5 separate regions of the Homo sapiens genome follow, and all the other regions are linked to region 1. The links are contacts of gene promoters, found by promoter capture Hi-C in blood cells and fetal thymus (Javierre and others, 2016). All regions are on one chromosome and are shown on one strand. The core of a region is centred on a gene start or on the middle of the fragment in contact, and the rest is flanking DNA. Distances in the headings are between cores, read along the strand shown.

What was found. The method cuts DNA at HindIII sites, captures the fragments that hold promoters and counts their contacts. A CHiCAGO score of 5 or more calls a contact.
Region 2: a contact is called between a fragment that was not itself captured here and the fragment with the promoter of IQGAP1 in region 1, in 1 of 17 cell types (monocytes). The highest score is 5.4, in monocytes.
Region 3: the fragment with the promoter of FURIN here is called in contact with the fragment with the promoter of IQGAP1 in region 1 in 1 of 17 cell types (fetal thymus); the score reaches 5.4 in fetal thymus.
Region 4: a contact is called between a fragment that was not itself captured here and the fragment with the promoter of IQGAP1 in region 1, in 2 of 17 cell types (monocytes and total B cells). The highest score is 5.4, in monocytes.
Region 5: a contact is called between a fragment that was not itself captured here and the fragment with the promoter of IQGAP1 in region 1, in 1 of 17 cell types (total B cells). The highest score is 6.4, in total B cells.

The regions. Positions count from the first base shown.
Region 1 is chr15:90,386,883-90,389,577 of GRCh38, forward strand. It overlaps IQGAP1 (IQ motif containing GTPase activating protein 1), which reads left to right and starts at 1,360. Exons shown (of 38, transcript NM_003870.4): 1 at 1,360-1,514. The coding sequence starts at 1,460. RefSeq lists a silencer at 1,084-1,863. The HindIII fragment of the contact is 8,546 bases long and covers 1-2,695 here.
Region 2 is chr15:89,874,968-89,877,662 of GRCh38, forward strand. All of the region lies in intron 7 of ARPIN-AP3S2 (ARPIN-AP3S2 readthrough), which reads right to left. The region is part of intron 3 of AP3S2 (adaptor related protein complex 3 subunit sigma 2); the gene reads right to left. It also overlaps the pseudogene LOC100631255. Among named protein-coding and RNA genes, the nearest start is that of MIR5009, 7.7 kb to the right of the region's middle. The HindIII fragment of the contact is 826 bases long and covers 892-1,717 here.
Region 3 is chr15:90,867,202-90,869,896 of GRCh38, forward strand. It overlaps FURIN (furin, paired basic amino acid cleaving enzyme), which reads left to right and starts at 1,387. Exons shown (of 16, transcript NM_002569.4): 1 at 1,387-1,510. RefSeq lists enhancers at 1,919-2,695, 2,361-2,410, 2,478-2,695, 2,511-2,620, 2,558-2,695. The HindIII fragment of the contact is 27,514 bases long and covers 1-2,695 here.
Region 4 is chr15:90,813,000-90,815,694 of GRCh38, forward strand. It overlaps BLM (BLM RecQ like helicase), which reads left to right. Exons shown (of 22, transcript NM_000057.4): 22 at 2,103-2,695. The coding sequence ends at 2,280. Among named protein-coding and RNA genes, the nearest start is that of FURIN, 54 kb to the right of the region's middle. RefSeq lists a silencer at 1,678-1,787. The HindIII fragment of the contact is 2,570 bases long and covers 41-2,610 here.
Region 5 is chr15:90,734,481-90,737,175 of GRCh38, forward strand. The region is part of intron 1 of BLM (BLM RecQ like helicase); the gene reads left to right. Among named protein-coding and RNA genes, the nearest start is that of BLM, 18 kb to the left of the region's middle. The HindIII fragment of the contact is 647 bases long and covers 978-1,624 here.

The DNA.
Region 1 (2,695 bases), core at 110-2,609:
ACACCTGTAATCTCAGCACTTTGGGAAGCAGAAGCGGGTGGATTACCTGAGGTCAGGAGTTCGAGACCAGCCTGATCAACATGGTGAAACCCTGCCTCTACTAAAAATACAAAAAAAGTAGTTGGGCGTGGTGGCGGGCACCTATAATCCCAGCTACTTGGGAGGCTGAGGCGGGAGAGTCGCTTGAACCCGGGAGGCGGAGGTTGCAGTGAGCCGAGATCGCGCCACTGCACTCCAGCCTGAACGACTGAGCAAAACTCCGTCTCAAAAAAAAAAAAAAAAAAAAAATGCCGGGCGCGGTGGCTCACGCCTGTAATCCCAGCACTGTGGGAGGCCGAGGCGGGTGGATCACGAGGTCAGGAGATCGAGACCATCCTGGCTAACACGGTGAAACCCCGTCTCTACTAAAAATACAAAAACTTAGCCGGGCGCGGTGGCGGGTGCCTGTAGACTCAGCTACTCGGGAGGCTGAGGCAGGAGAATGGCGCGAACCCGGGAGGCGGAGCTTGCAGTGAGCCCGGATCGCGCCACTGCACTCCAGCCTGGGCGACAGAGCGAGACTCCGTCTCAAAAAAAAAAGAAAATAAAAAAAAAGAAAGAAAGAAAAGAAAAAAGAATAAACAGAAGAGGGCTGCGGACAGAATACCGTTGAATACCAATATCTGAAGGGCAAGCCACAAGGTGCAGGGGGCAGAGGCATCCCTGATACGGGAAAAGAGTTATTTTAAAAAGAACTTGCAAAGAACAATGTCAAGGGATCCAAAGGTAGGGAATTTGGACAGAGTTCGGCTTTAGCATCCGCATCTCAAATACCTGGGTACCTGGGTAATCTGGTGACTGCTGCCGAATCTAAGAGGACTGAGGCCAGGTTGCCAAACTGCGGAGAGTGGGGTTGGAGGGCTTTCATGGCAGTTTGGGGCCTGCTTGTGTCCAACAAGACAACCTGGGTCACCTCAAAGGGTGTCTTCTCCAAATATTGGTGCAGAGGTTAGCTGGGCCGGCAAGAGAAGGGAGATGACCCACTATTTTGATTTCAGGCAGCAGACACCGGCAGCCTTTCGGTTAGAGTTGCGGATAGGGCAGTGGCCTTGGGGGCGGGGCTATAAACCTGGGCGGGCATTCCCGGCAGGGCAAGCTCAGCGTGAGCCCGATTGGAGGATGGGCTCTACCTTCTTCCTTCCGCCTACGGAGACCATAGCGGGATGCAGGGCGGGGCCGGGCTGAGGGGGCGGAGTTAGGGGCGGGGCACGGTGACTCTGGCCCCGCCTCTTTCCGGCCGCTCAGGGCGGTGTCGCTGGGGCGGTGCCGCTGGGGCGGGGCCTGCGGGGTGGGGCTGACGGCACGGGGCGGGGCCTCGGGGACCCCGGCAAGCCCGCGCACTTGGCAGGAGCTGTAGCTACCGCCGTCCGCGCCTCCAAGGTTTCACGGCTTCCTCAGCAGAGACTCGGGCTCGTCCGCCATGTCCGCCGCAGACGAGGTTGACGGGCTGGGCGTGGCCCGGCCGCACTATGGCTGTGAGTGCGGGGCTCCGCGGCGCGGGGGCTTCGGGCTGGGCTAATTGCAGACGAGGCGCGATTTTCCTGGGGGCTCGGCCGGGCGGGTGGGGCAGGGCGGCTGCCGGCAGCTCGGACCCGGAAGAGCCGTCCCGGTGGGGCGGCGGGCGGCGGGCGGGGAGGCCCCTGGTTCGCGCCCCCTCGGGGTCCGAGGCGGCGGAGAGGACCCCCGAGGCCTCCCGCCTTAGCTGGGGCCGCGGTAGGGGGAGCCCCACCCAGCGCCTCTCGCCGCCCAGGCTCGGCCGAGATTGGGGAAGACGGCCTAGAGTGAGGTGGCAGGATGACCGCGCAGGGCGTGTCCCGGGGATTGGGGGTCTGGGTACGCGGGCTCTGCCCGTTTCGTGGAAAGGCGCTGCCCTAGTGTTGCCTGCGGGGTAGACCCAAGGGATAGACCAGGGTCCAGACCTGTCCGGTCCCAGGCTAGCTACGAGGTGCCGTCCTGGGCAAGTCACTTCAGTTTTCTCGGGCTTAGTTCCCTCCTCAAGATTTCAAAAGTAAAATAGTAATAAAGAAAAAAAAAAGAAGCAGAAAATCCTCTGACTTCCTCATTTTCTGTTGTCGGCCCTGGACGTCATTGAACTGCAGGCAGGATTGGCTAAAGGAGGACCCTTTGGGATTTTGAGGTTTTCGGTTTTATTTTATATTGTGGGAATAATGTTCTTTTTTAAAGGATCAACATTTCACGCATCAACAGTTATACGTGAGGTATTGTGCCACGTTTGTGAAATTAAAGATGAGTAAGATCAGGCCCTGTCTCCAAAGAGCGTTTTAATCAGAGAGTCAGGTGTGCAAGCTAATGATTATAAGGTGCAATAATGATAAAAGATGCTGAACTTACTAGCCATACAGAGTAATGTAGGTAAGGAGAAGGGGCCTGGGGAAGACAGTATGAGCACGGGAGGTGACTTTTTTTTTTTTTTTTTTGGAGACAGGGGGTCTTGCTCTGGTCGCCCAGCCTGGAGTTCAGTGGTGCAATCTCAGCTCACTGCAAACTCCACCTCCCAGGTTCAAGCGATTCTCCTGCAGTCTCCCGAGTACAGGCGTCGGCCACCACACTGGCTAATTTTTGTATTTTTAGTAGAGACAGGGTTTCACTGTGTTGGTCAGGCTGGTCTCAAACTCCTGATCTCAAATGATCCCCA
Region 2 (2,695 bases), core at 55-2,554, 510 kb before region 1:
AAAAATAAAGTTACATATTTCAATGCAGACATAAAAATATCTAACAGATATTAATGAGCTAAATGTAAAAAAATAAATTAAAAAAGCAACGGCAGATCCCCTGGGTGCCATCCAGGCCCCCGGAAGGAGCTATTCAGTCTGTGGCAAAGCTTTGAGGTGGCTGGTACTGCTAAAAGCGGCACGTGGAGGTGCCCCCTAGCGGCCTGAGCTCTGTTCTGCGGCAGCCAGAGCACATGCGAGGAGAGCCAGACCACAGTTTGCAGCAGCACCATCCCAAAAGGCTGTTTTCATTAAAGATGTTTCATGAAACTAAGACTGGGTTCTCAAGATAGGGTAGTTATCCAGGACAAGATGGACTAGCCCCAGAAAAAGACATCCCCAGATAGTGGGTGGAAAAAGAACTGTCAGATGCATCTGTTTTTCTTACTCAAAATATTATTCAAGATCACAATCAAGGTCAAGAGAAAGAAAACAAGAAAGAAAACGAAGGACGAAAACACAAAGCGCATGCTGATGGGCAAAGAGGCTGAACTGAAGACATTGCAGACTCAGGTAGGAAAATAATAAGCCTATTTCATGATGAGGCAAGAAGACAGGAATCCTACAACAAATCCTCTAAGAAATACACTTCTGAGGAGCATAATGACAAAGAACATTATTCTGATAAAGGAAGAGAGGGACTAAATTCATCTGAAAATGGGCTGGGCGCAGTGACTCACGTCTGTAGTCTCAGTACTTCGGAAGGCCAAGGTGGGCAAATTGCTTGGGCTCACAAGTTTGAGACCAGCTTGAGCAACATGGCAAAGCCCTGTCTCTATAAAAAACACAAAAGTTAGCCAGGCGTGGTGGTGTGTGCCTGTGATTCCAGCTACTCGGGAGGCTGTGGTGAGAAGCTTGAGCCGGGGAGACAGAGGTTACAGTGAGCTGTGATTGTGCCACTGCACTCCAGCCTGGGCAACAGAGTGACATGCTGTCTCAATAAATAAATACATTCATCTGAAAATGATGAGGACAGACACAAACACAAAGAAAGCCATCAAGAAGCAGAAGTCACTCAAGATACAGGTCTCGTGAAAGGCATCATCGTAGTAGAGGGAAAAGAAGTAGTCTCAATCCAGAAGCAGAGAGAAGAACGATCATGATCTAGAAGCAGGAAAAGAAAACCATGGGCTGGACATGGTGCTTCACACCTGTAATCCCAGCACTTTGGGAGGCCAAGTCAGGCAGATCACCTGAGATTCAGGAGTTTGAGACCAACCTGGCCAACATGGCAAAACCCTGTCTCTACTAAAAATGCAAAAATTAGCCAGGCGTGGTGATGCATGTCTGAGGTCCCAGCTACTTGGGAGGCTGAGGCAGGAGAATCACTTGAACCCAGGAGGTGGAGGTTTCAGTGAGCTGAGGTCACACCACTGCACTCCAGCCTGGCCAACAGAGTGAGACGCCGTCTCCAAAAAGGAAAGAAAAAAAAAAGAAAGAAAGAAAACCATGGATCAGATCTTGCTCCTGTTCAAGATAAAAACTACATCTGTGTTGCGTGTGAAAAATAAGTAAATAAATAAATATGACATGCATAGGAAAGAAGCAGAAGTAGTACAGGAAGCAGAAGACAAGAGAGAAAGAAGAGCATTGAGAAACTAAGATTTAGCAGAAGTTTAAGCCAGATTTCCAGTTCATCTCTCTTCAGAGGCAGAGGCACAGCAAAGGATGCATAAGAAGCTTTAGCTGGGAGGATGGACTAGGCAAAGAAATTACAAGAACAGCAAGAAAAAGAAATAGTTGGGATGGGTGTTGGGAAAAAATTTTTTAAAAGAAAAAGAAATCATTGAAAAACAAAAACAAGAAATAGCTCCAGTTACTAGAGATTTTGTTCTCAATGTTGCTGCCCTGTTGGCATCAGGAATGCCAGTAACTCAGATAGCTATGGCAGCTCAAATGGGAGCCCTGCAAGCAACAGCTTTGGCAGAGACAGAACAGCTGTACCTAGGGATTATGACACAGCAGCTGGAAATCCAGTGAAATTTGCTGAACAAGAGGAAAAAAGTCAAGGCAAGAAAAACTGGGCAAACTCCCCGTCTGCTGAACTATGACTTTGGGAAACAAGGACCAAAATGTCATATATATGGAAATTAGTGGGTATTAAGAGTGAAGATGAAGCTAGATGTAGCTCACTTGATGAAGAAAGTTAGAAGACTTTGAAGCAATAGGAAGTACTGTATTTAGAAATTTAGATGCTCAGTATGAAAAGGCAAGATCACAGACCCACACATAAAGAGGAACGGGATTGGGTTTCACATCTTCAACGTGAGAAATGGATGCAGTTTGAAAAAGATCATACTTTTAAGGTTTGGGAACTTATAGCCTTCTTGTTCTGATGTCAGGTCCTTGTTCCCAAAGAGCTAGTGTTCCAGTTTGTAGGGTGTTGCACTGGCTTTTCTTCCTCTCTCTTTTTTTAAGCTGTGGTAAAATACACGTAACATAAAATTTACCATCATAGCCATTTTTTAAGTGTACAATTCAGTAGCATTCGATAACGTTCATAATGTGCAACCATCACCACCATCCATGTTCATATCTCTATTTTATAAACCTGAAACATGGCCGGGCGCGGTGGCTCATGCCTGTAATCCCAGCACTTTGGGAGGGCGAGGCAGGTGGATCACTTGAGGCCAGGAGTTTAAGACCAGCCTGAGCA
Region 3 (2,695 bases), core at 137-2,636, 480 kb after region 1:
CAGCATTATCACCAACACGATGGAAAGTGATCTCAGATGTCATGAGGATGCATGATTGTTTGCCCTGATCACTAAACGGCCCATTGTTGTGCTGGCATACTGGGCAGTTTCAAGTTTGGGAGTTTTCTCCCTCACTGCTAGCTGTCTCAGAGCTTAGTTCCCAGCAGACAACTCTTGCTGCCTCGAACCCTGGCACACTAACCACCATCCTGTGACGTTCCCACTCCTCATTCTGCGACAGTGGTTCTTTGCTGGGAGAGATTTTTGTCTCCCAAGGGACATTTGGCAATACCTGGAGATCTTTTTGGTTGTCATCATGGGAGCGGGAATGCTACTAGCAGCTAATGTTTAGTGACTAGGGATGCGACTGAACATCCTGCAATGTAGAGTGCAGTGTCCCCTACAGAGAATTATCCGACCCAAGATGTTGATAATGCCAAGGTTGAGAAACCCTGTTCAGGATGACAAACTGATTGAAAACTCAACAAGGGGACCGGGCGTGGTGGCTCACGCCTAATAATCCCAGCACTTAGGGAGGCCGAGGTGGGTGTATCACTTAAGGTCAGGAGTGCGAGACCAGCCTGGCCAACATGGCAAAACCCCATCTCTACTAAAAATACAAAAAAAAAAAAAAAAAATACGAGTGGCGTAAGCCTGTAATCCCAGCTACTTGGGAGGCTGAAGCATGAGAATCGCCTGAACCCAGAAGGCAGAGGTTGCAGTGAGCTGTGATCAGGCCATTGCATTCCAGCCTGGGCAACAGAGCGAGACTCTTGTCTAGAAAAAAAAAAAACAAACCCATAAAACAAACAAACAAAAAAAACTATGAGGATTGAGTGATTCACATTTCTGAATCGAGAGAGAGAAGGATGGGCAGCAGGCTTGTTGAAGCTGGAAGGCCAGGGAGGTCGCAGACTGAGGAAGACCCTGGTGTGTCCCAGGTACCTCCATGCAACCCTACTAGAGAGGTGGTCTCTGGCTTCCTATGGACAAGCTCTAAGGGACCCAGCTATGGGGCACCAGAGCCCAGCGTTCAGCAGCTGCTCAATGAATGTCTGCCAGGCGAGACTGCACCCAAAGCATTTATTAGGTACATAATTGTGGCAGCACTGGCTGGCCATGGAAGGCAAGGCAGAACACAAGGAGCTGGAGCTGGCGGAAGGAAGTCATTAAGTCAGCCAGTGGCTGGGATGCAGCAAAGCCAGGCAGAAGGTAAGTGCAGACCCACCCCAATAAATGAGGAAAATGAGAAGGGCTGGCTGGCCATGTTAGGATCCAGTTCCAGTGCGACCAGATATGTCACCACCACATCACTTTTAGCTCCTCCCCCCACCCACAGACACCCTGTTTGCCTGTCATATAAAGAAGGTTTTCCCAAAGTGGTTTAGCCAGAACTGGAAGGGCCCCGCCCTGTGAAGGGATAGGAGCCTGACTGTTGCAGCTGCAGTGAGTGGCGGGGAAGCAGCAGCGGCCAGGATGAATCCCAGGTGCTCTGGAGCTGGATGGTGAAGTATGGACATGCTTTATTCGATTTTGCATTGACTTAAAGGTTTAATTATTTTAGGAGTTCTTGTAGACATTCCTGAAAAATGCAGGTAGGCAAAAAGAAGAAAACAAAGATCGCAAATGTGACCCTTTCATTCGGAGAGAACACCAATGGAATTTTGTTGTGCACCCTTCTATGCACGTCTGAATGTTGTGTAGACATTCTGCTTACAACTAGGTGTGGGTGCTGCTGCCGAAGGCTTTATTTGCTGTGCCTGAGGTGGACCAGAGATTTCAGAGAAGACTCCCAGAGCACCCCAAGGAGACAACAGGAGTGCTTGGAGTCAGGATGACTGGGTGGATTTAGGACTATGTGATTCTCAGGAGCCTCTCTGGATTAGCCCCAAATCAAGGATAAAGAGAGGCCTAGCTGGACTCTTCCTCCCAGAGCCCTGCTGGGAAAATGGAGCCCCTTTACAGCCCCCACTTACCCATCAGGCCCTGCTCCTCTCACTCATCTCCAGACTTCTGTCACATGCCCAAGTCCTGCTAACTGCTGTGTAAAACTGGTAAGGTGGGATCCAGAGGACCTTGGGCCCCTAGGGCCCCAGGTCAGGAGACCTGGGCTCCAGGGCCAGTTGAGAGTGATAAAGAGAACAATACCTGCCCACAGGACTTGTTGCAATGAGATAAAGGCAGAAGTCACCAGTTGTGGTCAAATGGGATTTTTTTCCAGAGAAGTCTCACAGAGAGTGGCTTTCAAATTCTTTTTAGCAGCAGAATTGTTGTAAAATACAATCTCATGTGAAACCCTAAAATGTGAGACACTCTGGGTGAAGCAGAGAGAGGTGCTCAACTGCCCAATCCTGTCCTCATTCCTCCCTCTCAGGGAGGCACCTCTGAGAACCCACTTTAAAGAATTTTGCCTTATGCAGATTGAAGAGGCAAGCTGGCTGGAAGAAACTGGGAAGCTCCACTTCCCACCGCCTCTGCCTGGGTGGCAGTCATCTGAGCCTAGGCTAGCCCCTCCCCCTCCAAAGACCCACTGCGGGCTCCCCTGGGGCCAGTCTCCAGGATGGGTGGGGCACCTGAAGCAGCAAGTATTGCTATTTTTCTGGGCTGACCTTTCTTCTAGGCCTGAGGACAAGTGGGTAGGTGGGGCCAGCCCTGTCCCTGTTTCCCCTCAATGGAGTTCTCTTGCTCACAGCCT
Region 4 (2,695 bases), core at 76-2,575, 430 kb after region 1:
AAAAGGCATCTGGCTCAACACCCAGGGTTTTTGAAGAGGAAGCTTAGGCCTGGCCTGGGGAGGGCTTATCGGAGGACAACCCTGCCTGGTCTCGATTTCAAAGGTAGAAGCGGACACTGGCCTGCCCACACCTGCCCAGAGCACGTTCACTTCTGCATGTTGCCTGTGGAGACTCCTAAAAAACACGCATGGTCTTCCATCTCATCTTTATGTATTAGAACAAAGCAAACCATATTGCTATTGGCTCCCTTATTTAATTTTCACAACTTTTGTTTGTAAGAGTGAAGCACTTTGCAGCATCATCTGGAACCTAATCTGATAAGAAGCAGTAAAGCTCACACTTGTACCCATTTCCATGCTTGTTTTCAGTGAGCCTGGGTGTTTAAGATGGGATTTGTTGTTGTTGTTGTCGTTATGGAGTTTTGCTCTTGTCACCCAGGCTGGAGTGCAGTGGCACCATCTTGGCTCACTGCAGCCTCTGCCTCCCGGGTTCAAGCTATTCTCCTGCCTCAGCCTCCCAAGTAGCTGGGATTATGGGTGCACGCCACCACGCTGGGCTAATTTTTGTATTTTTAGATGGGGTTTCACCATGTTGGCCAGGCTGGTCTCGAACTCCTGACCCCAGGTGATCTACCCACCTTGGCTCCCAAAGTGCTGGGATGACAGGCGTGAGCCACTGTGCCCAGCCAAGATGGGATTCTTTTTTAAGCCCTACCAGCTAAAGCCAGTGCACTGTGTGACTTTGTGTTACCCTTGGAGCAGCCTCTTTTTGCTCCACTCTCCTTTCCACCGACCCAGTGTGCTCCCCGGATTGAGAGTCCCTGTGCAGTGAAAGAATAAATGTGGCTCTCTGCCAGCAACCTCACCTCCCCACCCTACCCTCAGAGTTTCACATCTTCAGAACAACACACAATGAACCAGTTGTGTTCTGGGCTCTCTGAGTGGGAGTAAATGGATGGCCCAGGTGAAATGGAGGCTGCTGTTGGCCGATTCATTCTGTAAATCAACATAAACAGCAGGTTTTCTCTCTGGGCTTAATTTCTCAGCAGGAAATCAGCATAGGGAAACTTCAGGCTGCATCTCTGCCAGTCTAGCAGATCTCTGCCAGTTCTGCAGTAAAACTGCCTTGGAGCCAGAGTTTAAGTCATGGAGCTCCATCAGAATGTCATTACCCACAGGCTGTGGCCCTATACCCTCAATTCAGACGGGAGGCTACTTGTATGCCCTGGTGCCGTGGAATTAGTGTGGGGCCTGACATCAGCCGGTTACAGAGCAGCAGGAAAGGCTTCTGCGGGTAATGCTGCCCACAGCCATCACTGTAAACATGCCGGCCCCATGGTTTTGTTTGTTTTTATTTTACTTAAGGGTGGGAAGGGAGCTGTTATCTTAAGGTCTGCAAGGAAAGTGAGATGCTGGAAGGACTTGGTAATCGGCTCTGGCGGCTTCTTCCTTGGCTTTAGAAGGCAGCGAGTGGGAGGGAGAGCTGGCAGATCTCTGGGTGTAGGCAGGTGAGCCAGGGAGCTGCTGGACACGGTCCTAACAGAAGGCCGCATCTGCAGCCTTCCTGGGGCTTCCTGGGGCTGGCCAGGAAGACGCCCAGCTTTGCCACTCCTGGCCACCCAGCTCCACCCCATGCATGCTCACCCCACAGCTGCCTTGCTCTGGACTGTGCAAGTCCAGTCATTCCGGGGTGCCTGTCAGCAGGGAGCTGGGGCCTTACAGCAAGGTGTTTCACTTCTTTTATTTGGTCAGAATAGATGAGGACATGTGGACCTCAGCTCCTCTTGCAGGCTCTGGTTGTAGGCTGCCGAAGGTGTGGGTGGAGAGAGGGGCGGTGGGTTGGTCACAAGTCAGAAAATTAAGAAACAGTCCTGCACATTTCAGAAAGACAAATCCAGAACAAATTTATATGAAGGGCCGCGGTCCTTTATTCCATAAGTAGTAAAGGAAACTTACCTTACCTAGGGGGCTCGTAGGCAGAAAATGCACAAGGACACATTAGGCCCAGGGAAGTGGTATTGTAGCTCTGTGCAGGTTGAGAGGAAGGTCATTCATTTTTGGTTTCATTTAACATTTTGATTTTTTTCTTTGTCACATTTCAGGGGGTCTGCCACATGTAGAAAGATATCTTCCAAAACGAAATCCTCCAGCATCATTGGATCCAGTTCAGCCTCACATACTTCTCAAGCGACATCAGGAGCCAATAGCAAATTGGGGATTATGGCTCCACCGAAGCCTATAAATAGACCGTTTCTTAAGCCTTCATATGCATTCTCATAACAACCGAATCTCAATGTACATAGACCCTCTTTCTTGTTTGTCAGCATCTGACCATCTGTGACTATAAAGCTGTTATTCTTGTTATACCATTTGAAGTTTTTACTCGTCTCTATTAATATTTAAATAAATGCTGGGGGGTGATAGTTCTTCTTTTTAAAATAAACATTTTCTTTTGAATAAGCATGTTTTGCTGCCGCTGCAAGTGTTGTGGCCGTTGTTTCTCAGAACGTCTGAGGCAGCAGCTGAATCATCTCAGTGCAAGAGCTTCTGAGCATAACACGAAACCCAGAAGCCAAAGGAAGAGCCACGCGTGGGCCCTTGTGAAACTAAAGCTTTTCGTGTAAGACAACACAAACAAAATTTAAAGACAAATGACGGGGAAAAGAGGAGAAAATATATTACAAAGGATTAGTAT
Region 5 (2,695 bases), core at 51-2,550, 350 kb after region 1:
TTTCACCATCTTGGCCAGGCTGGTCTCAAAGTCCTGACCTCAGGTGATCTGCCCACCTCGGCCTCCCAAAATGCTGGGATTACAGATGTGAGCCACCATGCCTGGCCAATCAATACTTCTTAATGATGGTATTCTCTCTCTCTCTCTCTGTCTCTGTCTCTCACGCACACATACACACACACGCGCGCACGCACGCACACACACACACACACACGCAGAGAGAGAGAGAGAGAGAGAGAGAGAGAGAGAGAGACTTTATTCCTAAATCCTGTATTTTATCTAATAGGAAAATACTAGAGGCATTTTTACTAAGATTGAGAAAAATATAGAGATACTCACCAACTCCACTTGTATTTAACATTGTACTGGGGGCTTAGCCAATGCAGTTAGATAAATCAATTAGAGGCACAAGATTTGGAAAATAAAAAGTAATATTGTCCCTACTTGCAGGTGATATGGTAGTGTGTCTGGAATACTGCAGAAAATCAATAATGAAACTAACTAAACAGAAAAGGAATTTTATAAGAATATGCAAAAATCAGTAGTCTTCATATACACAACAAGTTTGAATATATAATGAAGGGTAAAATCCCATTTACAGCAACAAGAAAAAGAGAAAATATTTAGGAATTTAAAAACATGTAAAACCTAGGTGAAGAAATCTTTAAAACACTTCTGAATAACAAAAATAGCCTTAAACAAATGAAATCTTTTGTTCTAGGACAGGACAACAACATCATAAAAGTGCCTAAGTTAATATATATATATATATATATATATATATATATATATTTAAGTTAATACATATACCTAAGTTAATATATAAATTTAATGCAATCTCAATATAAATATCAACAGAGTTCTGGCACTAGACAAGTTGATTCTAAAGTTCATATAGAAAAATAAACATATAAGAATAGGAAAACAGAAGAGCTACAAAGAGAAAGTAGACTTCCAGATATTGTAACATGTTGCAAAGCTTCTATCATGATAATATTGTGGTATAGACCAATGGTATAGAATGGAAAGTCAATAATTAGTCTCCTAAACACATGAAGAATTTAGTGTATGATAAAGGTAGTTCTGAAATTATTAGGGCAGAGATGGACTCTTTATAAATAGTGCTGGGACAACTTGTTAGCCACTTGAAAAAACAAAATTATATCTATACTTTATATCAGACACAGGAATAAACTCCAAATGAACCAGAAATCTAATTTTTTTTAAATTACCTACTAGAAGAATACATAGATGAGTTTTCTGTAACCTGGATGTGGAGAAGGGCAATAAAAGAGGGGGAAAAATTGGCTACATTGAAAAGCAAATTCTTGATTACAAAAATGAAAAACACCATAAGCAAATTTAAAAGATAGATGAGAAACCAGGAAAAAAATCTGCAAAATACATTTTAAAGACCTACTATCCCTAGTCTAAATTGAGAGAAAAAAATACTAAAATTTGGTTAAAAAGGCAGAATACATGAGCAGATACAATTTTTTAAAAAGATTCAAAAACCATCCTTAAATATGTGAAGAAAATATTCAATTTCACCTAAACAGGAAGTGTAAATTTAAAGCTGCACTGAAATACCGTTTCTCACCTATCAGCTCTGCACTAATTAGAAAGCTTCACAAGAAGCCCCATTGGTGAGGCTGTGAGGAATGCAAACTTGTAAAACCTCCTTTGAGGGAGAAGTTGGCAATCCAGCAGACTACACATGCATTTGCCCTTTGACCCAGCCATTCCACTTGTAGAAATATTCCCTAAAGATACATTTTCTTTTCTTTCTTTCCTTTTTTTTTGAGACAGGGTCTTGCTTGTTGCCCAGGCTGAAGTGCAGTAGTGTGATCTTGGCTCACTGCAGCTCAAACTCCCAGGCTCAATTGATCCCACCTTGGCCTCTGGAGTAGCTGGGACCACAAGTGCATGCCACCACGCCTTACTAATTTAAAAATTTTTTTTATAGAGACGGAGTCTCACCATGTTGCCCAGGCTGGTCTTGAACTCCTGGACTCAAGCAATCCTGTCTCTGCCTCCCAAATTGCTGGGATGACAGGTGTGAGCCACCGTGCCCGGCCTTACGTTTTCAACAGTAGGGAAATATGAATGCACAAAGTTATTTGTTGCAGCATTATTTGTAATTGTAAAATATCAGGGAATACCTTAAATGTCCATACAGGAAATTTGTTGGTAAATATCTACACAATGGAGTACTGTACAGCTGTAAAGAAGAATGAGGAAAATCTTTGCAAACGGGTGTAGAGTGATTTCTAACATGAATGGAAAGCGTACATACAGTGTGCTATTTTTTATGTAAGAAAGAAGGGAAAATATGAGACTCTAATGTCTGCTTATTTTGCAAAAAGAAAAACAGGAAAGATAAATCAGAAATTATTGAAATTGATAACCCACAGGAAGTAGATGGCAAAGGATGGAGAGGGAAGAACACTTCTCTGTGGGGAAAAACAGTCTTTTATGTAGTTTTAACTTTTAGAACTATGTAAATGTTTTATATATTCAAAAATCAAATCCACAAGAACAGTACAAACACAAACTAATCTAATTCAAATGATGAATGTAATCACCCTGAAGGTGAGGTGGGACTGACCAATCAAGTAACTTTTGAATATAGTACTTTAATTATGTACCCTTAATCTGAAGAAAGAAATGCAACTGAATTTTGAACTCTTCTTAG